Regions from separate parts of the Homo sapiens genome. Here regions 2, 3, 4, 5 and 6 are each linked to region 1. Evidence: promoter capture Hi-C in 16 types of primary human blood cells and fetal thymus (Javierre and others, 2016). All regions are on one chromosome and are shown on one strand. Each heading gives the region's core, a stretch centred on a gene start or on the middle of the fragment in contact. The rest is flanking DNA. Distances are from core to core; before and after follow the strand shown.

What was found. The method cuts DNA at HindIII sites, captures the fragments that hold promoters and counts their contacts. A CHiCAGO score of 5 or more calls a contact.
Region 2: a contact is called between a fragment that was not itself captured here and the fragment with the promoter of CRBN in region 1, in 2 of 17 cell types (M2 macrophages and M1 macrophages). The highest score is 7.1, in M2 macrophages.
Region 3: a contact is called between a fragment that was not itself captured here and the fragment with the promoter of CRBN in region 1, in 2 of 17 cell types (M2 macrophages and M1 macrophages). The highest score is 6.5, in M2 macrophages.
Region 4: a fragment that was not itself captured here is called in contact with the fragment with the promoter of CRBN in region 1 in 1 of 17 cell types (M2 macrophages); the score reaches 6.9 in M2 macrophages.
Region 5: a contact is called between a fragment that was not itself captured here and the fragment with the promoter of CRBN in region 1, in 2 of 17 cell types (M1 macrophages and M2 macrophages). The highest score is 8.2, in M1 macrophages.
Region 6: a contact is called between a fragment that was not itself captured here and the fragment with the promoter of CRBN in region 1, in 1 of 17 cell types (M2 macrophages). The highest score is 5.2, in M2 macrophages.

The regions. Positions count from the first base shown.
Region 1 is chr3:3,176,646-3,180,940 of GRCh38, forward strand. CRBN (cereblon) reads right to left here and starts at 3,046. Exons shown (of 11, transcript NM_016302.4): 1 at 2,976-3,046. The coding sequence starts at 3,042. RefSeq lists a silencer at 3,110-3,279. The HindIII fragment of the contact is 7,719 bases long and covers 1,185-4,295 here.
Region 2 is chr3:4,150,782-4,155,076 of GRCh38, forward strand. It overlaps a transcript of SUMF1 not described here. Among named protein-coding and RNA genes, the nearest start is that of SETMAR, 150 kb to the right of the region's middle. The HindIII fragment of the contact is 2,514 bases long and covers 1,040-3,553 here.
Region 3 is chr3:4,048,683-4,052,977 of GRCh38, forward strand. It overlaps a transcript of SUMF1 not described here. Among named protein-coding and RNA genes, the nearest start is that of LRRN1, 250 kb to the left of the region's middle. The HindIII fragment of the contact is 4,715 bases long and covers 1-4,295 here.
Region 4 is chr3:4,029,114-4,033,408 of GRCh38, forward strand. The region is part of intron 2 of LOC102723512 (a long non-coding RNA gene); the gene reads left to right. Among named protein-coding and RNA genes, the nearest start is that of LRRN1, 230 kb to the left of the region's middle. The HindIII fragment of the contact is 669 bases long and covers 1,485-2,153 here.
Region 5 is chr3:4,009,901-4,014,195 of GRCh38, forward strand. The region is part of intron 1 of LOC102723512 (a long non-coding RNA gene); the gene reads left to right. Among named protein-coding and RNA genes, the nearest start is that of LRRN1, 210 kb to the left of the region's middle. The HindIII fragment of the contact is 3,697 bases long and covers 504-4,200 here.
Region 6 is chr3:3,979,049-3,983,343 of GRCh38, forward strand. It overlaps the pseudogene PNPT1P1. Among named protein-coding and RNA genes, the nearest start is that of LRRN1, 180 kb to the left of the region's middle. The HindIII fragment of the contact is 2,993 bases long and covers 550-3,542 here.

The DNA.
Region 1 (4,295 bases), core at 1,796-4,295:
GAATCGCTTGAACCCAGGAGGTGGAGGTTGCAGTGAGCTGAGATTGTGCTATTGCACTCCAGCCTGGGCGACAGAGCAAGACTCCATCTCAAAAGAAAGAAACAAAGAAAATTTTGCAATCATTTGCATACTATTTTGCTTAATTTTAAATTTAAAAATAAAGTTTGCATGAAGCATAAAACATTTTAAAAGAATGTCTTAGAAAACCAGATGTTACCAATGACAGCAAAGAAAATTAGAAAACGCTACACAATACATATGCTATTGTACTAACTGTGAGTCTGTCCTTTTCATACAAACTATGAGTAAATTTCCTATCCTAGACCAGTGACTCTCAACCACAGGTGATTTTGCCCCTCAGGGGATATTGGTTGCAATAACTAAGGGAGTCCTACTGGCATCTAGTGGGTAGAGGCCAGGGATGCAGCTAAATATCCTACAATGCACGAGACAATCCCACCCAAAGAATTCTCCAGCCCAAAAGTCCAGTGCTGAGGTTGGGAGACCCTGGCCTAGACTAACAATAAAGAATTACTGAATCTCATTTCTCACCTCCCAGTTCATGTATTTTTAAATGCCCCAAATAAACTTCTAAATCGATAAAATGTCATTACGAAATAATCATTTGTTTTCCTTTGCATATCATTATTTAAGTCAAACCACCTCTAGCCAGGCCCCTGACAGAAAATAAAAATGATTTTCAATATGGTAACTGCCTTGGACTTTCTATTTATTATTACAACTTCCTAGATATAAAACTTTGTCAAAAACAGAATTACTTCAACTTATATGTAAATAGCCAATGGTCTAACACTTCATACAAATTTTCCTTGGAACATGTAAGTTTCACTGAGATAAAAAAAGAGCTATCTAAATGGATGACAAAAATATTCTGCATCAAATTGTTTGTATTTCCAACTCTGACAGTATGGCTATCACTTGGCATGCAGCACAACCCACTTTATTGCTCTACTACAGAAAGTTTAAAAGATAAACTATTAGCTCAAAGGCTGGAATTAATATTGTTAAAAATTTACATTTTAACTGTTCTGACTCCTAGTCTCTAAATAATTTCTTTAGTAACCTTTTTTTCATAAATATGGCTAAAAACCACTTTCCCCTACTCAGTTATGTTTATTAATGTTTCATTTGCCTAGGATAAACTCTTCACATCTCAAATATAAAGCTTTTTGTTGGAACTTAGAGGATTTACTCTTCAGAACAACTCGTACTACATGGAATTATGGAAAGCCCAGTGTTTCCCTACAAATAAAATTTACGTAATTTGGAGAGGCATTATTGCTATATCTACACCATCTCTGGGCCCTCTCCCGACGCTTTTCTGAAAAACAAAAAACAAAACAAAACAAACAAAAAAAAAACAAACAAAAAACCACGCTGACTGTTCAGAGCTATCAGTGAAGTCTGATGACTCATCTCATGCAGAGGCACGATGTGAATGTCGACAGAAGATCAGTATCCTCCCTCTTCTATTCACCATTCTCCCTGAAACACCGGATTTGGCACAGAGAGTAGGGCTAATGTCTCTGAAAAAATAGCTCAGCTTTCCATCAAAGGCTGGCACACTTACCCTTGTGTCAACTCAGCTAGAATGGCTTCGAGAACAACCAGTGACTATGGTTTATTTTTACAGAAAAGTTCTCTCCTATATGGTGGGCACGCACTCAGTCTCTTCCTCTTTTAATCCATGCTGCTACCAGTGGACAAATTAATCTTCCAAGCATAGATTTCTTTAGGCAATTACCTGAAACCTAAAACTGTTTCTTGGCAATCCACAGGAAAAACCCAAACCCACTGGCAAGAGATGCCAGTTTCCCAGCAACTTAGACCCAATATACCTCCTAGGCCTTATGTCCCACAACCATATCCTAAATATGTGCTTTTAGATGTCTCCTGATCTACCTGAAAGGCTTTTTCCCAAATCCTCTGACCCTTAAACAACCTCTGCCTCTGAAGAGCCACAACAGCATTCATTTATCTGGCCCTAAATCAACCGCCTCTGCAGTTGATTTACGTTTAGTTATATTCTCAGCAGCCCCGCCTAGACAGTAAACCTCAATTATCAGATTGTGTATTACCTCTCGTTTCATCTCCACAACACCTAACATACTTGTCATATAACGAAGGGACTCAAGTAATACTTTCAAGTTTGGATGATACACCTTTTGGAAAGCATCTCTTGAAAGGCATTCCATGAAAAGTTTATGCAATATTCCATGCATTTTTTTTTTTGTTCAGTATTTCAACACAAGGCCAAAGTCTAAACATTTCACACAACATACAGGAAAAAGAAAAACTAAGTATCTCTGATTAAGCATAATCGTACATGCCTGAGAAAGACCGATAGTAAGAAAAACAAAACAGAGAAGTGGTTTAGAGATATAATGACAGACACACCCGGGTTGGAATCCTGACTCTGCTGTGTGACCTTGGGCAAGTCATTGAACTAATCTGCAAATCCAATACTCGCTTATCAAATCGGAAACTGAAAACTGATGTGGGAAGGATTAAAAGGCGACATGCATGCAAAGCGTTAACTGCACGGCTCGTAACATGGTAAGTGCTTAGTACATGTTAGCTGTCACTCTTATTAAAAGGAAGGAGACCAGCAAAAGTAACCGCTGTGAATCTGACCCGGTCCTCTAGTTTCAGAGCATTTCCTAGGAGCTAAACTCAGAACACAAGGAGGATGGAGAGGATGGGTTTCCTGTTCTTAATAGCAAATGCTCCCCCCGACACCCTGGCTCACGGCTCGGGGCAACAGAGCAGCGAAGAAAGCGCCGCGACTCCATCGCTGGCCGAGGGCCGACGTGAAGCAGCTTTCCGGTGCGGCCCTGCTGGGCTGGCTCGCCAGGCTTGGCGCCCCCACGCCCGCCTCCCAGGCCCAGCTGCACCGCTAGCGGCTCCGAGCCTCGCCCCACTCCCGACTACAGGGAACTACTCCGGGCGGTTACCAGGCAGGAGCGGCAGGTGGTTGCCCATGTTGTGCGCAGCGTCCTGCTGATCTCCTTCGCCGGCCATGTCTGTTTACCCGCAAAGGAGGCTGGGACAGGGCGGTGCCGAAGACTCCGAGGGAGGGCCCGTGTCGCGCGGCTGCCGCGCACCGGGGCCACAGCGCCCCCTGGCGGCCCCAGGGGAGCAGACGGCGGCGCGTACCCAAGCCTGAAAGTGATGGCCTAGGCGGGAGGGACAATTACAGGCCTGCGCTCCGTCCCGGGGACAGAACGCCGTCCCCTGCCATCCACGGCTGAGTGCCCGGCGTACACGCTGCAGAGCCCTCACTTTGTTCCAGCCCTTAGCATGACTTATTTAATCCTGATATTTTGCATATGGAGAAACTGAGGCTGAGAGCCTTTAGTCTCCACCTTGTTTTTAAACGAAGGGGGCAGGGAGCAAATAGAAACCTGTTCATGCAGCATTAGTTTCAATTCTTAAAATAAGAAGCATATATGTGAAGGCTGGGGAAATCCATCAGTTATTCCGAGGGTGGTTGAATTATTGCTGATTTTCTTCAGTAGTTTCAATGTATGTACATACAACTTCAATAACTTCAGTAGTTTCCATATATGTACATTACATTCCAAAATTAACAAGTATTAATCAGAAACATACTTGAAATGATGATTGCACAGAATGGAAAACGCCTTATAATTGGTAAATAAAATTGTCTGAATATAAACTAGCCTACTCATTATGACTTCAGCTATGTAAAAACAAGTCACTGTGGCAAAAAAGAAAGACTATGTAAAAAATGAAGATAATTCTGTTATAATGGTGGAGTTGTGACTGGTAAGATATTTGTTTTGGAGGGAGGACAAAAGTTTTCGTAGTGTATTTCAGTATCACTTTTTCAGCGAGGAAGGAAAACTGAAAAATCCTTAAATGAAATACAACATCTAAACATGGTAGTGGTGGTGGTGGGCGGAGGCTGAGAGGAAGCAGCAGCATTGCTCAACAGAAAAGTCATGGATCTGAGATTTGAAAAAATGATTTCAGAAAATTTGCCTCCCTGATAAGTTACAAGCAGAAAACTCCCTTGTGACAGAGGCTTGTGAATCATTCCTGTGTCATTTTGCCTCCTGTCTCCGAATCAGTCTGTGGTCTTCGTCAAATCACTTATGGCTGCGGGCCTCAATTCGCCCATTTGCAAAATAAGAACGAACCAAATAGTGTCGCCTATTTGTTCCAGTTAATAATGTCTGCAACATGAATCATAGCATCACCTTTTACGATGAGGTTAATAACAATTACATATACTACGTAATGATTTAACG
Region 2 (4,295 bases), core at 1,047-3,546, 970 kb after region 1:
GCTGAGGAGTATATTGCTGCCCCAGACAAAAAGAGCTCCATCTCTTCTGTTCTTAGGAGCTCAGGGAGGTAGCAACCAGATAGGAGGAGACCCCTGATATTATCAGGTTCCATAGGCTTTAGCTGTCTCCCTGTGCCCCAAAACGGCCAGCAAACTCTTTCTGCTCTCTTCGAAAGTGACAGACTATTTCCTCTGGAACACCAAGGGGACAAATGGCCTTCACACCTGAAGTCCAATGTACAGCCTGCTTCGTCACACTTCAACAGAGGATTAACGTCTGGTGGGGGCCTCATCTTTTAGAATCGCTGTTCTCAAGAAACAGTGTAGCACAGTCTGTCAGTCTAGGGGTTTCATGCAACAGAGAACAAGCAAACACATGACTATACACACACACATACATGCAAATATATATTTAAACACATATAAGGAAATGTATAATGAATATAAATATATATATCAACATATAATAGATAAACATTAAAATATAGATATTTATACATGTAAATATGGAGTGCTGCTGCTAGTCTGGGGTGCTTCTCCCTACAGGGAAGAAGAAAAACATAAATATACATACACAATATATATATATACATGTGTGTATATATATGTATATATATGTATATGTATATATGTATATATGTGTATACATGTGTATATATGTATATATGTATACATGTGTATATATGTATATATGTATATATGTGTATATATACGTATATATGTGTATATGTATACGTATATATGTATATATGTGTATATATATGTGTGTGTATATACACACACACACACACACACACACACACACACATGCAAGTATATAGAGCAGAGGTGTCGAAACTTTTGGCTTCCCTGGACCACACTGGAAGAAGAAGAATTGATTTGGGCCACACACAAAATATGCTAATAATAGCTGATGAGCTAAAAAAAAAAAAAATCACAAAAAAATCTCATAATGTTTTAAGAAAGTTTATGAATCTGTGTTGGGCCACATTCAAAGCCAACCTGGGCTATATGCAGCCTGTGGGCCATGGGTTAGACAAGCTTGATATAGAGAAAAGATGCACTGGGACAGGTACGACAACTCCAGGCATAACTGACCTTCCCATGTAAGCATGGTAAATAGCCATTTCTATCATCTCAAAATTCTCCTGTACTTGCTGGATGGTTTCTGAAATCCTGCTAATGGGAAACAATGACCTTTGTTCCCCAATTCAGTTCAAGTATTAATATGATGAAAATACAAGCATTCATAATGTAACCTCACATCAATATCTAAATAACCAATATTCCCGAGACCAGACTATGGGCCATAAAGGTTAATAAAGATTAGGATCATACAGAAGCACTACACTGGGGAAGGGAGCAGTGCAAAGAACACAGAACTGGAAAAATTTTAATGTTTGAAATGAACTTAGAAATTTGCCTGGCACAAAGCAGTGAGAGATAGGAAAGGGTTTATTCAAGAAGTCACTTTCTGGACAGTCTAGAAGAGCAGTCTGGATTTTGTTTGTTTATTTGTTTTTTGAAACAGGGTCTCGCTCTGTTGCCCAAGCTGGAGAGCAGTGGTGCAATCTCAGCTCACTGCAACCTCCACCTCCCAGGCTGAAGCAATCCTCCCACCTCAGCCACCCGAGTAGCTAGAACTACAGGCACAGGCCCCAACACCCGGATTTGCTTTTTTTTTTTCTTTTTCTTTTTCTGATGTCTCGTCATAGTGTCCAGGCTGGTCTCAAACTCCTGGGCTCAAGTGATCCTCCCTCCTCAGCCTCCCACAGTGCTGGGATTACAGGCATGAGCCACCGTGCCTGGCCCAGTGTGGTTTCTAAAACAGAAGTGACAGTATGTGGATCAGCTCCATAACTTATCTCATACATGAGCTTCAATACAAATAACTTACTTCTATAAATCAAACTGTCTACACTTGGCTAGACCAATGCTTCATGCAGCCCAAGGCTGTCCTGAGGCTAGTAACAACCATTAATTCAGCCCACCTTCTGCACCCAACCCCACCTCTCAAACAAAACCCCAGACACTTAACTCCAAAAGCGCTATTGAGTAATATCATTGTTACTGATGGACTCATGGATAGACAGAAGAAAACATTTTCAGAATACCTTATACATCCCTAGTCTCTCTCCCTGGCAGAGATATTTGGTATCTGGTCAGCTTGCAGTCTCCACCCAACACAATAAAAGCTAGTTGTTTGGCATAAGCTAAGCAAAAAGCCTGGTCCTAAACCAAGCCCTATTCTTCTGAGAACTGCAAGCGAGCTCTCAGAACCCTGCAAAGTTACAGCTACAATCACTTCTGATCCTCAAAAAGTTTAATGGATACATATATCAAAACATCATGTTGTACACCGTAAATACATACAATAAAATTTTTAAAAAATTGAGCAGAAACATATATTTGATCAATTACTTGAGGATTTTCTTTTTTTTCTTTTTTAGAGACAGGATGTAACTCTGTTGCCCAGGCTGGAATGCAGTAAGCAATCATAGCTCACTGCAGCCTCGAACTCCTGGAATCAGCAATTCTGCCACTTTAACCTCTCAAGTAGCTAGAACTACAGGCACATGCCACTATGCCGAGCTAATTTTTTATTTTTATTTTTTGTAGAGTTAGGATCTTCCTATATTGCCCCAGCTGGTCTTGAATGCCTGGCCTCAAGCAATCCTCCCATGTTGGCTTCCCAAAGTGCTGAGATTACAGGTGTGAGCCACAATGCCCCGCCTTGTAGGTTTTTTTTTTTTTTACTGTATTTCCAGTTTTTCCACTGTTCAATGACAGAGGAACTCCTTATAAATAAAAAATATATTCAAGCCCTAAAAAATATTAACTTTCTTATTTACCATTTTCATTTTCACTTTTTGCCTATGGATTTCAGTTAAAAACTGGTGTTATTTCCTTATTTCAACATAACTACATTACCATTCACCTCCTTTGTATAGTTATTGTAAAACATATTCCATTTCTGTATGTTGTATTCAGCAACATGATTGTATAGAAATTATTGTTGCCTACAATTGCTTTTAGAATAATTTAATATAAAATTTTTTAAAGAAATATATTTTTAAGTCTGTTAGGAGGCAGGGAGGTCAAGTTCCATCTTTATCTTACTGAGGAAATTGGAGCTTAGGTTAGGACTCCCGCCTAAGGCATCAGATCTGTTTGCACAATTTGGACAACAATCCACCCATTCATTCCTTCAACTTGCAAAGAGTCAGGCAGTTGGGGCTAGTGACCCAAGTCTAGTTGAACACTGTAACATGGACTATGGCAGAATTAAATGGAATGGCATGGCACCAAACCTAGACTGAGATGTCCAGAAAGGTTTCTCAGAGGAGGAGGTGACTCCTGAGCTACATGTGGTAGAATGTGTGGAGGTATCCAGGAAGTGGGGCAGAGCTACTCCAGAAAGAACTGGCAGCATGGAGAAAGGCATGATGGTGGATTCTGGGTCTGAATTACAGTGTTTTTATTCTCCTTCACAACCATCACATAAAGTGACTCTAATCCTGGGGAAACTAACCTCACCAGGAACCCACTAGGAAGCTTTCCACCCATCAATGGAATTTCATTCATTTTTCATTTATTCACTTAAAATTTAAAGAATTACCACTCCAGCATGAATAATAAGATAGTTAACACTTATTGGGCACCAACTATGTTCCAGTCACTTTGCATACATTATTTCATCTGATCCTTGCCACAAACCTACAAGCTGGGGACTATTATCTCTGTTTTATAGATGAATAAATGAGTTTCATTGCCATTAAGTGAGTTATCAAAGGTCACATAGCTATGAAGTAACTGAAACAGAATTCAACCTCTCGTTGATCTGTCCCCCAAACCTGGGCTCTTTTGAGGCATCCACACTGCCTCATTCATCTATTCAAAAAAATATTTCTTGATTGCCTACTGTGTGCCCTCTGCTGAAGAAAACAGGTCCATAGACTGATAATTTTTAAATAAGAGTTTTTCTAAGAACTGCATTGTAGGAGGAAAGATGAGGATGCTCACCAGCCAATATCTGGGCAACCACCGCATCCCACTTCCAGAATACATCAAAATTACAGCTTTTTTTGATATATGACTGCAACTTGAAGTAAGACCCTCTCTGAAAATTGTCATATGGTCAGCAAGGAAGGAGATCACTGTAAACTCAGGTAAGGGAAAACTGCTGGGGCTCAGCAGAGAAAGGAGATGTACCTTTTAGTTTTATGTTGGCAGACTTCAAAAAGGCAATTTGAAAGGAACATAGGTGACATTCATTCAAAGGGGTGCACAGGGTT
Region 3 (4,295 bases), core at 768-3,267, 870 kb after region 1:
CTACAAAATCCCCAACACTTGACAAATACAGTAGTCATGGACCTTATACAAGTATATTTGAATAAATGCACAAACCATGTACATTTCATTGCATACATTTAATACATAAATAGAGCCCTTCCCTGCTAGATTCTAATTTCTCTGAGGCAGGTTACCAACCTAATTTATTTCTGGATCCCTCATGATGTTCTGCACTTCATAGGAACTCAATAAACATTTACTGGATAAATTTTGCTTATCAGTCTGTCTGTACCATTTGAAACTCTGTAACATCCAAGGCTTCTAAGTAGGCCTTGGATTTAATTATAGAATAAGATGACCACAGAAGAGTTTTCTAACCTAACAGATATAGATTTGAAAGCCATGGGGAGCATGAAACCCATGTCACAAAAGTGTATCAGTCAAAATAAGTTAAGCTATGCTGCTATGATAAACACAGCAGCTTAAAGAAAAGGTTTGTTTCTCACTTGCACTACACAGACATTGCAGGCTGTCTGAGGTCATTGTTCTACATCATCCTAACTCCAGGACCTAAGCTAACAGAGCATTTCCAGTTGCCATGGCAGAAGGAAAATGGGGCAAAGGCAAATAATTCAATAGCTCTCACAGCTTTTACTGGAGGTAATGCTGTATCACTTCTTCTCGTATTTCACTGTCTATGTCTACCTTCAAGAAAGTGATGAAATGCCCTCTTACTCCACAGCAGGGAGCTCATGCCAAAATATTTGCTGGATGGCACTAATGACCACCACCACAACAGACTGCGTAGGAGAAAACACTGAGAAATTGAAATGGGAGAATTCCCTGACACCCCTTGCTGAACGTGAGACAGGGATGTGACTCATCTGTTCAGTAACCACTGCTCCTCAAACCCCTTATGTGAGGGGAGCATGCAGACAGGTAGGTTCAGGAGCCAGAGTAAGCACCCCTGGGCTCCAGCCCCAGGGCAGCATTCAGGGTTGAGAGCCTGCAACTCCCAAAGCCCAAATGGGCTGTGTTACAGTGTACTCTTTCAGCCTTGCCATTCGCGGGCAGCTTATCTGTTAACCAGCTCAGTGAATTCTCTGCCTTTTCACAATGGCAGAGGGCCAGTGTGACAGCTTTCTGTACCCAAGCTCTCGTCCAACATCCCAGAAGAGTCAGGTCACATACAGACTTGAAGGATGAATGTGGGGGTATTATTGAGTGGTGGAAATTGCTCTCAATGAGACGAATGGGGAGCTGGAAGGGGGATGGAGTGGGAAGATGTTCTTCCCCTGGAGTTTGGCCATCCAGTAGCCAATCTCCTCTCTGACCATCCCCAGCCAAACTTCTCTCAGCATTCGGATGGCCCTTCTCTTCTCTCTCCCACGCCATTCTGCCACTTGTCTACTCTTCTCCTTGTCTGCTTCTGGAGCCTGCAGTCTGGGGTTTACATGGGTACAGGATAGGGGCTGTGGTGAGCCAAAAGGCAGCTTTTGGGCATGAAAACAGGAATGCCTGTCTCCATTTAGGGGCATGAGTATCCTGGCTTGATAGTGGGGCACTTGCCAGGGAACCACCCTTTTCTACCCAGTATTTCCCTATCTCCTGTCCGTTCTAAATGATCCATTTAGAACCTGACCTACTTTCCGAAAAAAAAAATACATCTCCAAGGCAATCTATTGTTATAAAATCACTGAAATTGCTAGAGTCTTTCCCTAGACTTTTGAGCAGTTGCTTTCTGGGTCTCAATGTCCTTATCTGTAAAATGGGAATAAAAATAGAATTTCAGAGGGGCTTTGAAAATTGTCATGATGGCCAGGTGTAGTGGCTCATGCCTGTAATCCCAGCATTTTGGGAGGCTGAGGTGGGTGGATTGTTTGAGTCCAGGAGTTCAAGACCAGCCTGGGCAACATAGCAAGACCCCGTCTCCACTAAAAATACAAAAAATTCGTCAGGTGTGTTGGCACACACCTGTACTGCCAGCTACTCAGGAGGCTGAGGTGGGAGAATCACCTGAGCCTGGGAGGTGGAGGCTGCAGTGAGCCGAGATCATGCCACTGCACTCCACTTCAGCCTGGGCAACCAGAGTGAGACCCTGTCTCAAAAAAAAAAAAAAAAAAGAAAGAAAAAAGAAAAGAAAAAGAAAAAGAAAAAGAAAAATGTAATGATGTACATGAAAGCACCCATCATAGGGCCTGGCACAAACAGTTGATCACTAAATATTAGCCTTCTAAGAAACATAATCTTCAAATCCAAGTATGGGCTTTAGAAATGTAAGAAAATTTAATTCCTCCAAATATATTAATAAGTGAGAGAAAACTACGCACTCACCCTCTAAACTTGACGTTTTATTTTGCTGATATTGTTGATTGTCTACCCGCTAAAATGACTTGCTGCGCACAACTACCCACATATCCCTGCAATGCGAGTACTCAAGTAATTTGAACAGGGCTAAATATACTACATTCTAAGGCAAAAAAAAGAAAAAAAAAAAGGGTGGGGAAAGGAAAGCAGTGGAAGAAAGCTCCTAAAACAACTGGAAACTACCTGTTCCTCCCAGGCAGAACCAACCACCCCATCCAATAGGCTATACAAGTTACCACAGTTTTTCTACCCTTCTGCTTTATTTCCTATCTCCACATCCCTCCTGAGCATAGGGCCTGGTGCAGGATCACAGTGTTGTACATTCCTACGTTCTTTTCTTTGTAACTAAGTCACAGGACAAAGAGCCCCAAGAAAGTGGTTTTGTCCAGTGATGCACAGCCTTCCTGCTCCTCTACTGTCCACACTCGCTCAAGTGTGCGATCCAAGGAGCTGTAAAGGAAAAAAATCCCCAAATTAAATATTATTGTATTCCCACTCCTACTTATGCCTCCATACAGATGTTCTACAGGCAAGGGGAGAAGCACATGTTAAAGTTGTAACGTTTCTAAATAGACGTACCATGTAAATGCCTAAGAGAGAGAAGGCTCCCACTTTTTTCCTCCCTCCTACCATCTTTGACAGTCCTCAAGGACAAGTCTCAATTCCAGGACACTAGCCATGCCTGTTAGCAGAGGGGCTATTAGGCAATAAAATATCACCACTTACATGTTCACTTCTGTCTTCTCTCCTTTTCATGCCACTGGATCATAAGAATGTAGACTGGTTTGCACATCGGAAAAGACCTGGCTGTCTGATCAGTTTGCTTTTCTTCCTTCTTTTCTACCCCTGCAGCCTAAGTGGTAAACCGGTCTGAGTAAGGTCAGTACTGCACTTTAGATTATGAGTGACGTAAACCAAGAAAGTATCAACTAACAACCATAGGGCACTTTGATTCTCAAAATGGTTTTGGTTCTCTGTCTTACTCTATCTTCATAGCAACCTGTACTTGTTTCCTAAGGCTGCCATATCACCATGCCAAAGCTGGTTGGCTTAAAACAACAGAAATTTATTGTCTCATAGCTCTGGAGGCTAACAAGTCCAAGATCAAGGCACCAGAAAATCTGGTATCTGGTAAGAGCCTGTTTCCCTGTTTCCAAGGTCACAGATGGCACCTTCTCAATGTGTCTCCACATGATGGACGGGGCAAGGCAGCTCTCTTTGGTCTCTTTTACAAGAGCACTAATCCCATTCATAAGGGCTCCACTGCCATGATGTAATCACCTTCCAAAGGCCTTCCAGTATCATCACATTAGGGGTTAGGAACTTAACATATAAATTTGGCAAGGACACAAATATTCAAGCACAGCAAAAAGTTTATATGTATTTATCTGCCCCTTCCTAGAACTGACCAAAGACTAGAGCTTGGGGCTAGCCCACTGCTCTGGACATACATGCTTTCCCCTCCCATCTCATGCCTCCCAGAGAAACTGCAGCTCCTGCATGCTTCAAGTGGAACTACTCTAACAACAAACAGCTACTGGAGAAGCAATGTTGCCCTCTCAAATGCAATATTCCCGGACTATGTGCTAATAAGTTACGTTTAAGAAAACTACTACTTACCCATCCACTATTTTCTTTGCATTTTTTGTCTACTGTTTTTGTCCACATAATCTTCTTCTCGTGATACCCTCAAGAGATAGGCAGAACAATTATTACAGGTATACCTTGGACATATTGTGGGTTTGGTCCTAGACCACAATAAAGTGAGTCATACAAATTTTTTGGTTTTCCAGAGTTAGGTACTTGCTCTAGATTAGGCTTTGGCTTAAAGAAATGTTGTATGTGGTTTAATGTTCCATCCAGACCACTCAAACATTCCCCATATCAGCAGTAAGACTGTTTGCTCTCTTACCACTCATGTATTCACTAGAGCGGCACTTTTAATGTCCTTCAAGACTTTTTCCTTT
Region 4 (4,295 bases), core at 569-3,068, 850 kb after region 1:
CAAGTCTACTTTTTTTGTTGGTTTGTTTCTCTTCAAGAGCAATAGAGGTGATGCCTCAGAATTTGGCCGACCTTCATTTTAAACAGCTGTGCCAGGCAGCTTTGGAATGGGCTCCTGTCTCCAGTGGCTTTTGCACCTGCAATCTGGCTGGCTCGAGCTTTCTGTTTCCCGCCTGCCCCGGCAGCAGGCTAGGAGTAAGAGCAGTTGCCTATGACGTTCTCTGAACCTCCTGCTCCAGGCGACTGAGCCAGGAGATACCTAAGGGGCTTGTCAACACCTAATGCTGTCTCTCCTTCTCCTTGGCTCCAAACACTGTTCTGGGTATTGCCTCGCTGGGCCTGGCTAAAGCTCTGTCTTCTGAAGTGAAGGTTGACCTTTTATTAAATACTAACCCTACAAGAAAAGTAGAATAAACTAGTCCCATTGTAACTTGCCAAGATTAATACATCCATAGAATTGGGGCAGGAGATAACACCGAATGTGTACTACAGACTAGATATTGTTAAGTAGTATATTTCTAATTTAATCTTTAATCTTTATAATAAGCCTATGTAATAGATAGGCACTATGATTATTGCCAATTTACAGATGTGGAAACTGTGGGTTAGAGAAATAAGGTAACTTTCCCATAGACTTATAGCTATTAAGTGACAGAGGTAGGATTTAGAGATAGGTAGATCCACTTGAGTCCAGAGCTTATAGAGGTACCTACCTTACCAACAGGACGGCTTTTTGGAATTCATTTCGATAAAAAAAAAATCAAGTTGGATATGACGGACTTGATCATTTCTTCTGCCTGAGATGCCTAACACATCTAAAAGAGCTGTACGTTAGTTCATGTTATTGAAAAGCAGCCACCAAGACAGGCTAGATGTCACTATTTCTGAGCCTCCTTCTACTCCTCTTGTTTTTTTCCTTTTTTAGGAGGGAAAGACTGGCGGAAAGAGAAATACACAAACCTCAGAAGGGAGCAGACAATTCACACATTTCTACAGTTTAACCTTCAGTGCCAGTAAGTGTCAGGTAGTAGAGCTTCAGGTATGCCCCAAAAGTCTCCTTGCAAGGAACTGAGAAACCTGGAACATTTCTGCGTTTATGCTTATCCACCTATTTCTATCCTCTAAATTCATTTGATATCTGCTCTTCCTTTCAAAGGTAATTCAGATCACACCATAGCACCACGGACCATAAATCATTCTGAACAGAACTCTGTTTCTGGGGCACATCAATGTTCATTCAAGGGATCGTGCTTTAGAAACTAACCACCAATATGTATTTCAGTAATCTACTCCAATACTTATAATGTGACACAAAGAACAATCTTCAGCCTTCACCACTTCCTCAACACCACATTTTGCTCAGCTTTCCAGAACTGCCTTTGGAATCTCATCTTATAGGAGGGAGCTTATATGCACCAGAAAAGATAATGAGCAATCCTGTTTACCAGAAACTCATCTAGGAAAACAGCTAAGGAAAGAGGATGAAGCTTATTAATAAGCCCCAATTCTCAGCTTTGACTGCGTTAGATATATCAAGTTCACTGGAACCTTACTAGGTATCCTAGTCTCAGCCACTGTATTTCTCAGGTCTGGGACATATCTCTGAGCCTTTCCCCTATGCTGATGTTGGTTTATCAGGTAGTGCCTGCCAACAGCCTATGGCTCATGCTAAAAATAATTGAGAGTTGCTCAATTATTTCTAGAGAGGCAGCTGGTGTAGTGGAAAGAACACTGACTGATAATAACAGCTATTGTTTACTCACTTCATGCAAGACATTTTACAAGCATTATCTCCATTCTGCTGATAACCTAAGGAAATAGGTATGATTGCCCCCATTTTTTACCTGAGTCAGTTAAAGATTAGAGAATATCCATGATTTACCCAAGGCCTCAAGTTTATTGTCCAACAGATCCATGATGTGAATTGAACTCTCTCTCTGATTCCATATAATTCTGATGTATCATTACTGCCTCCAAATAGAAGGCAGAAAACTTGGTCAGAGTCCTAGAATTGCCACCTGGGTGGCCTATAACAAACCTTAATTTCACTCTGGATCTTAATTAGCTCAGCTACAGAATGGAAATAATGCTATTGAGTCTTAGGTGAGGATGCAGTCCTAAGAGTCAAATAGCCTGGGTTAAAACCTAGTCCCAAGCTTACCAGATGCATGACCTTGAAGAAGTAAATTAGCTTTACTTTTAACATGGAAATAATAGCAACAACTACCCCAATAGATATTGAGTAGATTAAACAAATTAAAACATGCCAAATGTATTAGTCAGGGTTCTCTAGAGGGACAGAGCTAATGGAATATATATATGTATGTATGTATGTATATATATATACACATACATACATATATATACATACATATATATACACATACATATATATATACACATACATATATATATATAGAGGGAGAGGAGTATGTGTGTGTGTGTGTGTGTGTGTGTGTATATAATATATATATAATATATATATATAAAATATATATAATATATGAATATACCTTGCATTTATATATGAAAAAAACAGAATGTATTAGCCTGTTTTCACTCTACTGATAAAGACATACCCAAGACTGGGTAATTTATAAAGAAAAAGAGGTTTCATGGACTCACAGTTCCACATGTCTGGGAGGCCTCACAATCATGGCACAAGAGCAAGGAAGAACAAACGGACATCTTACATAGAGGCCAGCAAAGAGAGAATGAAAGCCAAGCGAAAAGCGTTTCCCCCTATAAAACCATCAGACCTCGTGAGTCTTATTCACTACCACAAGACCAGTGTGGGGGAACTCACCCCCCATGATTCAATTACCTCCCACCAGGTCCCTCCCACAACATGTGGGGATTATGGGAGCTACAATTCAAGATGAGATTTGGGTAGGGACACAGAGAAACCAAATCACAGAGCCACCAGGTGATAGTCTGCAAACTCCTTGTTTTAAAATTATTTTCTCCTTTGCCTGGCCTAGAGGTATGGAGGCTCTATTATCATAGCATCCAGATGGACATAGGAGAGCAGCCTGAATGCCAAGATGTCTGGTATCAGATAGCTCAGTTAAAGGCAAAGTATGGAAATTACTAAGAGCAGGAAAAAAAAGATACAAATATTTTCATCTGATAAGAGAAGATTACAGTGATCACAGAGTGTAGTGGTTTGGCATCAGGCTGCCAAGAGTGAAATTCCAACAAGTTTGCTTATCAGTGTCTCAGTTTCCTTGTCTGTAAGCTCCGCCTGTTAATAGTGTCTACCTACAGGGTCACTAAGTAAGGTATTTATCACAGGGTAAGTATTAAATAGGTAATAGATGTAACCCTATGAGGTATTCTATATATCTGCTGAGGTAAATTCTTGTTCCTAATAATGTTTCCTCCAACTTCCTGTGAGTTTCGGCGGTGAGAAAGTTAGAATGGAAAAGGTCTGAAATTGAGAGAAAGTTGCGAAATGAGCAATAAGATGGTGTTCGTGCCCTACGTCAAAAAGACTTGGTCAGAAACATACATCTTTGAGACAGACTTGAGAGCTCTTGTTTGGCTCTCTGACCTTCTGTGGGAAATTAAATCTCCCAAGTTGTTAAATCCAAGCCAGTCTTTTTCTCCTTTTCAGTTTTCCAAGGTCATAAACACAGAAAAGGGATTCCTGGCCCTGGTACTAGAGCTCATCTTATAAGCCCAATGTAGTATAGTTCTAAACTAAGCATATTCTATAAGCAAAGTCCCTAGATTTGTTTCCTGGCTTCACCACTTACCATCAATTGGACCCTCGGCAAGTTATTTAACCTCACTAGGCCTCTCTTTTATCATCTGTAAAATGGGAACAATGAAATAGAGACACTGAGAAAATTCAGTGAGACAATGAATATGTGATAGGCAGAACAATGTCCCCGTCCCCCAAAAAAGTCTACGTCCTAATTCCCAGAACCTGTAAACACGTCATATTACATAGCAAAAGGGATGCTGAAAGTGAAATTAAGGTTTCAGATCTTTAAATAGGGAGATTGTCCTGGATTATCCGGGTAGACACAATCTAACCACATGGGCTCTTAAAAGTGGAAGAAGCAGCAGAAAAGTCAGAGAAGTGGCCAGAGAGTTCCAAAGCATGAGAGGGATTCAACCCACACTTGTTGGCTCTGAGGACTGAGGAAGGTGGCCACAGGTAAGTGGGTGGCCTCTAGAAGCTAGAAACAGTACTCAGTTGACAGTCAGCAAGGAAACAGGGACTTCAGACCTGTAACAGCAAATAACTGAATTCTGCCAACAACTTGAATTAGCAGGAGTCAGATTCTA
Region 5 (4,295 bases), core at 1,102-3,601, 830 kb after region 1:
TGGAGGGTGGGGAAGCTATGAAATCCTTCTGAAAGAATGGCTATATTTTAGGGGATCACAGAGAATGCAAAGTTCAAGCAACTAAAGGGAATAGAAAATCCAAGCTATGCGGGGGGCTCTTCCCTTTCTCATAATCCCCCTGGGCAATAAGCCAGTTCAGAGACATCATCAGCTTATTTTCTCATAAACAACAATTTATCAGTAAGAAAGTGATATTTTTCCTCTTTGCCTGACTCCTTAACACATAATTGGTAGTACCTCCCATAACTGATTAACTCAGAACAAAGCTGAAAAGAAAATAACTATTGTGAGCTGGAAGAAATAAACTAAACTCTAGGCGTCTTTCACCTCCTTAGATCCATTTACAGTGACCTTTAGCCAAGGGAAGCAATGATTTAGAGAGCAGCTAGAAAGGATTTGTGGAATCCACTGAACTGGAATTCAGCACACGGAGCTAATCCTGCAAAACTGTGATTATAAAATTACAAAGCTTGACCAAAGAAAGCTTTGTGCATTCTGTGGACTTGTACCTAAAATCACCCTTAGTCTGAAATATCCTTTTTGTCTTCCACAGGAATTGGCTAACTGTATTGCTCTATTTATGCCATCTTTGCAACTAAATACTGTGATTAACTTGAAGTGTGGTTTCCAGAAATTTCTTATGAGGAAACAGATAAATATGGAAAGATGTATGCCGAAAGATGTTTACTGCAGCAATGCCTAAGATAAAGACTGAAAACAATATAAATATCCATCAGGAGACGATTGCTTAAGTATAGTACAGTAACACACTGGACTATCATCCAGCCAATAAGCAGACTAAGTTAGATACTAACAAGATTCTAACAATAAACACAGTAAGTTAGTACTAACAAGAAACTATGTCCATCTGTTGCCCATGTGTCCATTAAATATTGCTAAGAAAAAGAAGTAGGACGCAAATAGTATGTGTAATATGAACTAATTTTTAACTTTGTATGTATGTTTGAGAAAGAGAAAAGCGTAAAAATGGTGAATCAAATTAACAGTGATTTTCATGGAAGACTGGGATTGTAGTGAATCCTTCATTTTCTCCCTATGCACTTCTGAATGGCTTGGATTTTGTTACAATGAGTATGTACTGTTTTTATAATTAGAAAAATGATATTCCTATTAGAAAAGGAAGATAAAGAGACTAATTCTTCACTATGTTTTCCAAATTTTAATATTACTTATATCAGAGATTATTTTAAGATATTTTAAACTACTCAGTGTAGTAGAAACAATACTGGACCTACAAGCCAGTCTTCAGTTGTGAGTTCCAGCTCTCTGTTTTTCCTATCTGAGCCTCAGCTGTCTTCATACACAAAATGAGTGGCTGTATTTACTGACTCACAAAGTCCCTACTAGTACTCACATTTCATAATTCTAACTGGAAATAAATACACCAGGCATTCAATCCTGTCTTATGCAATATGGCCTAAAATGAGGCCCACAAACTGCTATAATCCAAAGACAAGTGGACTCTTGGAAGAGCTGAATTACATAATAGAATAAGTTTCTATCATAGATCCCCAGGGAATGAGTCTTTTTTATACACTTACCGTCAGAAGTTCTGTCAAAAATTCTACAATCATCTCCAGCCCCAACATACACAATTTACTAGACAGGAAATTGAGGCCACAGAGGCAAAGGGACTTGTACAAAATCTCACAGCTAATGAGTAGAAAATTCAGGATTACAAATATTTAATCATTTCTGGGCTGGGTGTAATGCTTCTTAGATCTTAGAGTTCAGGCTAAACATGTGATAGGTTCAAAACAATGCTTTGACCGTCCCCCACAGCCCTACACCAAATGAATTTCTTTATGATATCCTCCACAGCCCGATCCACATCTCTGAAACTGAAACACATTAAAAGGAAAAGATTTTTGAAGAAGTATAATTTCCATTTCCTTTTTCCACCCACATATGTGCAGGCACACTGATATAAAAAGGGACTTTAAAAAATTTGTGGAATCTTAAGCAAAAAGAACAAAGTCAGAGGTGTCACATTACCCAACTTCAAACTGTACCATAAGGCTACAATAACCAAAATGGCATGGTACTGGTACAAAAACAGACACATAGACCAATGGAACAGATAAGATAACCCAGAAATAATACTGCACACCTACAGCCATCTAATCTTCGACAAAGGCAACAAAAATAAGCAATAGGGAAAGGACCCCCTATTCAATAAAAGGTGTTGGAATAAATGGCTAGCCATATGCAGAAGAATGAAACTGGACCCCTACCTTTCACCATATGTAAAAATTAACTCAAGATGGATTAAAGATTTAAGTGTAAGACCTAAAGATTTAAATAAAAGAATCCTAGAGGAAAACCTAGGAAATACAATTTTGGACATCAGCTTTGGGAAAGAATTTGACTAAGTCCTCAAAGCAATTGTAATAAAAATGAAAATTAACAAGTGGGACCTAATTAAACTAAAGGGCTTCTACACAGCAAAAGAAACTATCAACAGAGTAAATAGACAACCTACAGAATGGGAGAAAATATTCCCATAATATGTATCTGACAAAGATCTAATATCCAGACTCTACAAGGAACTTAATTCAACAAGCAAAAAAATAATAATAATAACATCATTAAAAAGTGGGAAAAGGACATGAACAGACACATCTCAAAAGAAGACATACAAGTGGCCAACAAACATATGAAAAAACGCTCAACATCACTAATTATCAGAGAAATGCAAACCGAAACCACAAAGAGGCACCATCTTACACCAGTCAGAATGGCTATTATTAAAAAATCATAAAACAACAGATGCTGGTGAGGCTGTGGAGAAAAGAGAATGCTTATACATTGTTGGTGGGAATATAAATTACTTCAGCCAATGTGAAAAGCAGTTTGGAGGTTTATCAGAGACCTTAGAACAGAACTTAAAATTTAAAACATTCAAACCAGCAATCCAATTACTGGCTACATATCCAAAAGAAAATAAATTGTTCTACCAAAAAGACACATGCATTTATATGTTCATCACAGCCCTAGTCACAATAGTAAAGACATGGACTCAACCTAGGTTCCCATCAACAGTGGATCAGATAAAGCAATGGTCCCCAACCTTTTTGACACCAGGGACTGGTTTTGCAGAAGACAATTTTTCCCCATATGGAGGTGGGGAGGGGAGGTGGGGAAATGGTTTCAGGATGAAACTGTTTTACCTCAGATCATCAGGCATTAGATTCTCATAAGGAACATGCAGCCTAGGTCCTTCTCACGTGCAGTTCACAATAGGGTTTGCACTACTATGAGAATCTAATGCCATGGCTGATCTGACAGGAGGCAGAGCTCAGGTGGTAATGCTCACCTGCCCACCACTCACCTCATGCTGTGCGGCCCAGTTCCTAACAGCCCATGGACTGGTACCAGTCTGGGGCCCAGGGGCTGGGGACCCCTTGGGTACAGAAAATGTAGTATATATATGCCATGAAATACTACACAGCCATAGCAAAGAATGAAATCATGTCCTTTGTAGCAACATGGATGCAGCTGGAGGCCATTATCCTAAGTGAATTAACAGAGGAACATAAAACCAAATACTGCATGTTCTCACTTACAAGTGGGAGCTAAACATTGGGTACTCATGGACATAAAAATGGCAACAATAGAAACTGGGAACTACTACATGGGGAAAGGAGGAAAGTGAGGAAAGGGGCAAAAAATTATGGGGTGCTATGGTCACTACCTGGGTGATGGGATCATTCAGACCTCAAACCTCAGCATCACATAGTAAACCCACGTAACAAATCTAAAACCATTTTTCTGGAAAAATGGAATTAAAAGATAAAAATAAAAAATATAAACTTTATTTCTCTATACCATCACCATCAAATTCATGACATTTTTTTAAGTGATGATACTAGCCATTTAGCCATCCCTAAAGGACTGAGGGTCCTGGTAAGTTAACCATGTCTATACAGTCTTTCTACTTGTTAATAAAATAAAATGAGTGTCTTTTAAAGGTTTCTTAAGATTAGAAAACAAAAAGAAGTCAGAAGAAGTCAAATCAGGACGGTAAGGTGGATACCTAATGAGTTCCCATCAAAACTCCTGCAAAATTGCCCTAGTTTGTTGAGAAGCATGAGCAGGAGCATTGTTGTGGTGGAGAAGGTCTCTCTGGTGATGTTTTCCAAGGTGGTGGTGTGCTAAAGCTTTGGCTAACTTTCTCAAAACACTCCTAAGAAGAAGATGTTATCATTCTTTGGTCCTCCAGAAAGTCAACAAGCAAAATGCCTTGAACATCC
Region 6 (4,295 bases), core at 796-3,295, 800 kb after region 1:
GAAGCCTACCAATACCAATCTCCATTGGGCCACAGATGCCTCATTGTGCCCAAATTGGATTGGAATGCACAAGCCAACAAGCACAAGCACAACTGCCCCTCCACCCCCACAAAAAAAATCACAATTTGGCAGAAGAGAAAGATTTAGAGGAATGTTAACTTAATGCACCTAAAATTCAAATCATGATTAGAAAAGGGTATTCTGGATATGACAGTTTAAGGTAGGTAAAGAGAGTTACGAATATGTTCAAAGTAATTGGAAAATGAGCCTAATACCAAGAGAATTACAGAATATTGGTGATGGAAGAGAATTAGAGAATAATTTTTACCTTAAAGTGTAGATCCTGAGTTCAGGAAGAAGCAGTTACTTGCTCAAGGTCAGTGTCTAAAACTAAAACGGGATTAGAACCCACACCCTTTTGAGTCTGGTGCTCTCTCTACTCTGCCAATTGTTCTCAAGGCTGTGGGGGGATGTTAAGAGTTTCTCAAAGTTCACAACTGGGCCTCTTTCTTTCTCTCTCCTCCTCTTCCTTATCTCATTCTTTTCCCAAGCTTTTATTCTCATTGACAGACTTAGTCATCCAAACGTATTTCTCCAGTTCTGACATCTCTGAACTCCAGACTTAGAATCAACAGTTCTATTTCTGGGTCTCCCAGGCCGCTCAAACTTAACATGTGCAAATGTAAACATCTACCCCCCATCCTTCCCACTACAGACTTGTTCCTCCCTGCTTGTTCTCTATCTACTAGATGGAACTATCATCTTACCAGTGTCAGCCTTGAATTGGTATCTTTTCTTTACTCTTTCCCTACAGCCAACCATCAGTAAGACCTCCTAAGTGTATCTCGAAAACATCTATCCACTTTCTCTGACCCCACCTTAGTCCAAGCCACCAACATCTTGTTCCTGGACTGCCTCCTAACCTCTCTCTCTGTTCTGATTTTTCCACTTCCAGTTCATTTGCCACACAGTAGCCAGAGTGATCTTTTAAAGACATTCCGTTTACAATAAAATCCAAACCCCTCACCATTGCCTATAAGATCAGGCATTATTTGTCCGCTTACTTCTCTAATCTCATGGCGTGCCACCTTCTTCCTTGACCCCTCTGCTCCTGGTATACTGAACTCTCTAAATTCTCAAAACATACCACGCTTTTTCTAGTGCAGGACCTTTGTACATGCTGCTCCCACTGTCAGGAGTGCTCTTTTCATTGTGAAAGGCTGGTTCCTTTTATAATTCCGGGCTCATGTTATATGTCACTTCTAAAAAAGAGGCCTTTCCTGATCACTCATCTCAATGACATATTTTTTTTAATTTAATCTTTCAATTTCAATTAATCTTTAATATTTCAGAAAGTATATCAACATTGCCTAACATGCTGTTTTACACACAATAGATACATGATCAATGTTTGATATAAATATACATATCTTTAAAATCTTTGGTTTAACCAGCTAAACTTTTAATATTTTATGAACTAGTTAGCCCTGAGTCATAAATTTACCTACTTTTTTTTTTTTTTTTTTTGAGATAGTTTCACTCTCTTTGCCCATGCTGGAGAGCAGTGACGTGATCTCAGCTCACTGCAACCTCCAACTCCCAGGTTCAAGAGATTCTCCTGCCTCAGCCTCTCAAGTAGCTGGGATTACAGGCACCTGCCACCACACCCAGCTAATTTTTGTATTTTTAGTAGAGACAGGGTTTTGCCATGTTGGCCAGGCTGGTCTCGAACTCCTGACCTCAGGTGATCCACCCGCCTCACCCTCCCAAAGTGTTGGGATTACAGGCACAAGTCAGCATGCCCGGCCAGATTTACTTATTTTTTATGAGATTTAAAACTGTTTTTAGAGATAGAGTCCTGCTATGTTGTCCAGGCTGGAGTGAAGTAGCTATTCACAGGCATGATCATTGCACACTACAGTGTTGAACTTCTGGGTTCAAGTGATCTTCCGACCTCAGCCTCCCAAGTAGCTGGGACTACAGGCATGTGCCACTGAGTCCGGTGTATTTTTATAAGATTTTTAAAAAGATAACATATTCTAAATTATGACGTCCACATACCATTTACTTTTGTGTGGAATTATAAGGTGATATTTTAAATGATGGGAATGAACAAGTTGACATGTATATCAGTAACCTCTAAACATCTATTTCAAACATCTATTAACTGAAAGTGATGATTCCTCCAGCTCTTATACTAAGAACTTCCATACATTAGAGCAATATACATATTCAAAAAGTGACCTAGTTCAATTAGACAAGTAAATAATTTTCCTATGTTTAGGTAAATTTGAAAAATATACATAATTACTACCTCATCCTAGTTAGAATCTCATTTATATTTATTCCACTATGTTCATGATTTTGTAACCAACTTGGAAGGCATCGTATTATTAAAAGTGTATCAGATTAGCTCCCTCAACTTACTATGTCTAGTAACCATTCTGAAGAAATAGGCACTGGCTTTGAATATGGCCTGTTCCAGTTTGTGAACAGTCGTAGGCAAGTAAAGTTGTTGGGCAAAGAGGTGAGCTATAGGATGACTGAGGGTAAATTGTCACTACTGTATATAAAGAAGACAAATGAGATATAGGAAGAGATCTGTTATAATAACATATATGACATATATCTAAGTTTTTCATATATTTCAGAATTATAGAAAAAAAAGTATGTAATCTTTTCTAAGATGTATGGATGACTTACTTTTAATAATATTTCTTGATTTATAATGTAAATAAGATTAAGCGAATATGGGTTACTCTTGAATTTAAAAATTGGCACATGTAAATGAGCATTTTAATACAAATAATTAGAATATATTTATACTGTATACACAGCTACACAACGGAAGATACTACTAAAATTTTGCTCTATAGCACATTACCCTAGAAAACATAGAATTCTAGAATTCTCTTTAAAAAGATCACTGAGAATTATTAGATGATGACTGTGAAATAGGTTCTCCCAGTACAATACTACTTCTGTCATTCAAAGTTCTGACAACAGTTGTAGCTGAAGACTGAAGCACTTTATGAGAAAGCCTCATTCTTCCATCAGCTGGGTCACATCCAAAGTATTTCACCTGAATTTCTTGGCCAACTTCTAATCCTAGGGCAGTAGGATGTTTAATATTTCATTGATCAAGTTGTGTGTTATAAAGCAGTACCAAAATCATATTTGGATATAATTTTACCATTACACCAGTATCTCTGCTTTCAGTTATTGTGGCAGTACACACTGCTCCAAATTCTAATTGCTGCTCCTGATCATCCTTGCGGATTTCAGCAATGAAGTCTCTTGCCTCATGCATAGCACCGGGTGTTGGTGCAAATATAGAAAACGTTTCTTCATCCACCTGACTAATAGTTACAACTGTTTCAGCCTGAAGTTTTTTAAGTTATATCCACCTGGTCCAACAAATTTTTCTCATTTTGATAATGGAACCTGAACAGTTTCTACAACAGGTCCATTTTCTTTTCTAGATGCTTGAGGTTTTGAAATAGCTTTGTTCATGATCTGTAAAATCTCCTTTTTGCCACTGAAGCTTGTTGAATAGCCTCCATTACAATTTTCATTGTTATTCCAGGTAATTTAATATCTGCCTGTAATGCAGTTATTCCTTTATTAGTGCCAGCTATTTTGAAGTCCATGTCACCATTGTAAGCTTCAATTCCCAGAATATCTGTTAGCAAATGATAATCTTCTATTTCACCCTTCTCAAGATCGGTTTTGGTGGCCAATCCCATTGCTACACCTGTGACAGCAGATTAAATTGGAAGCCCTGAATCCATTAATGCTAAACTTCCACCACATGCAGATGCCATAGAAGATGACCCATTTGACTCTAGGACTTCAGATGTAACTCTTATGGCAAAAGGAAAATCTTTGGGAATAACAGGATACAAAGCTTTCTCAGCAAGAGCATCAGGCCCAAGTTCTCTTCTATTTATACCGGTGACTTTGACAATTTCATTAGTTGCATAAGGAGGAAACTCATAGTGCAGCATGAAATTTTTATCTTTTATCCCATTTATAGTTGTTATAACTCGATCCAACTTAATACTGGATTCTAATGAATCAAATGTAACAGCACAAAGCAGCTGTGTTTGTCCTCTTTGAAATAATTCTGATCCATGAAGGGTTTTAAACATATCTACCTCACAACTTATATTCCGAAGTAAAGTCAAATCCCGACCATCGCATCTTTTGTATTCATTCAAAATAATACTTCTAAAAACTTTCTTTGCAACAGTATTGAAGGATTCTATTATCTCATATAGATCGACCTCTGGAAA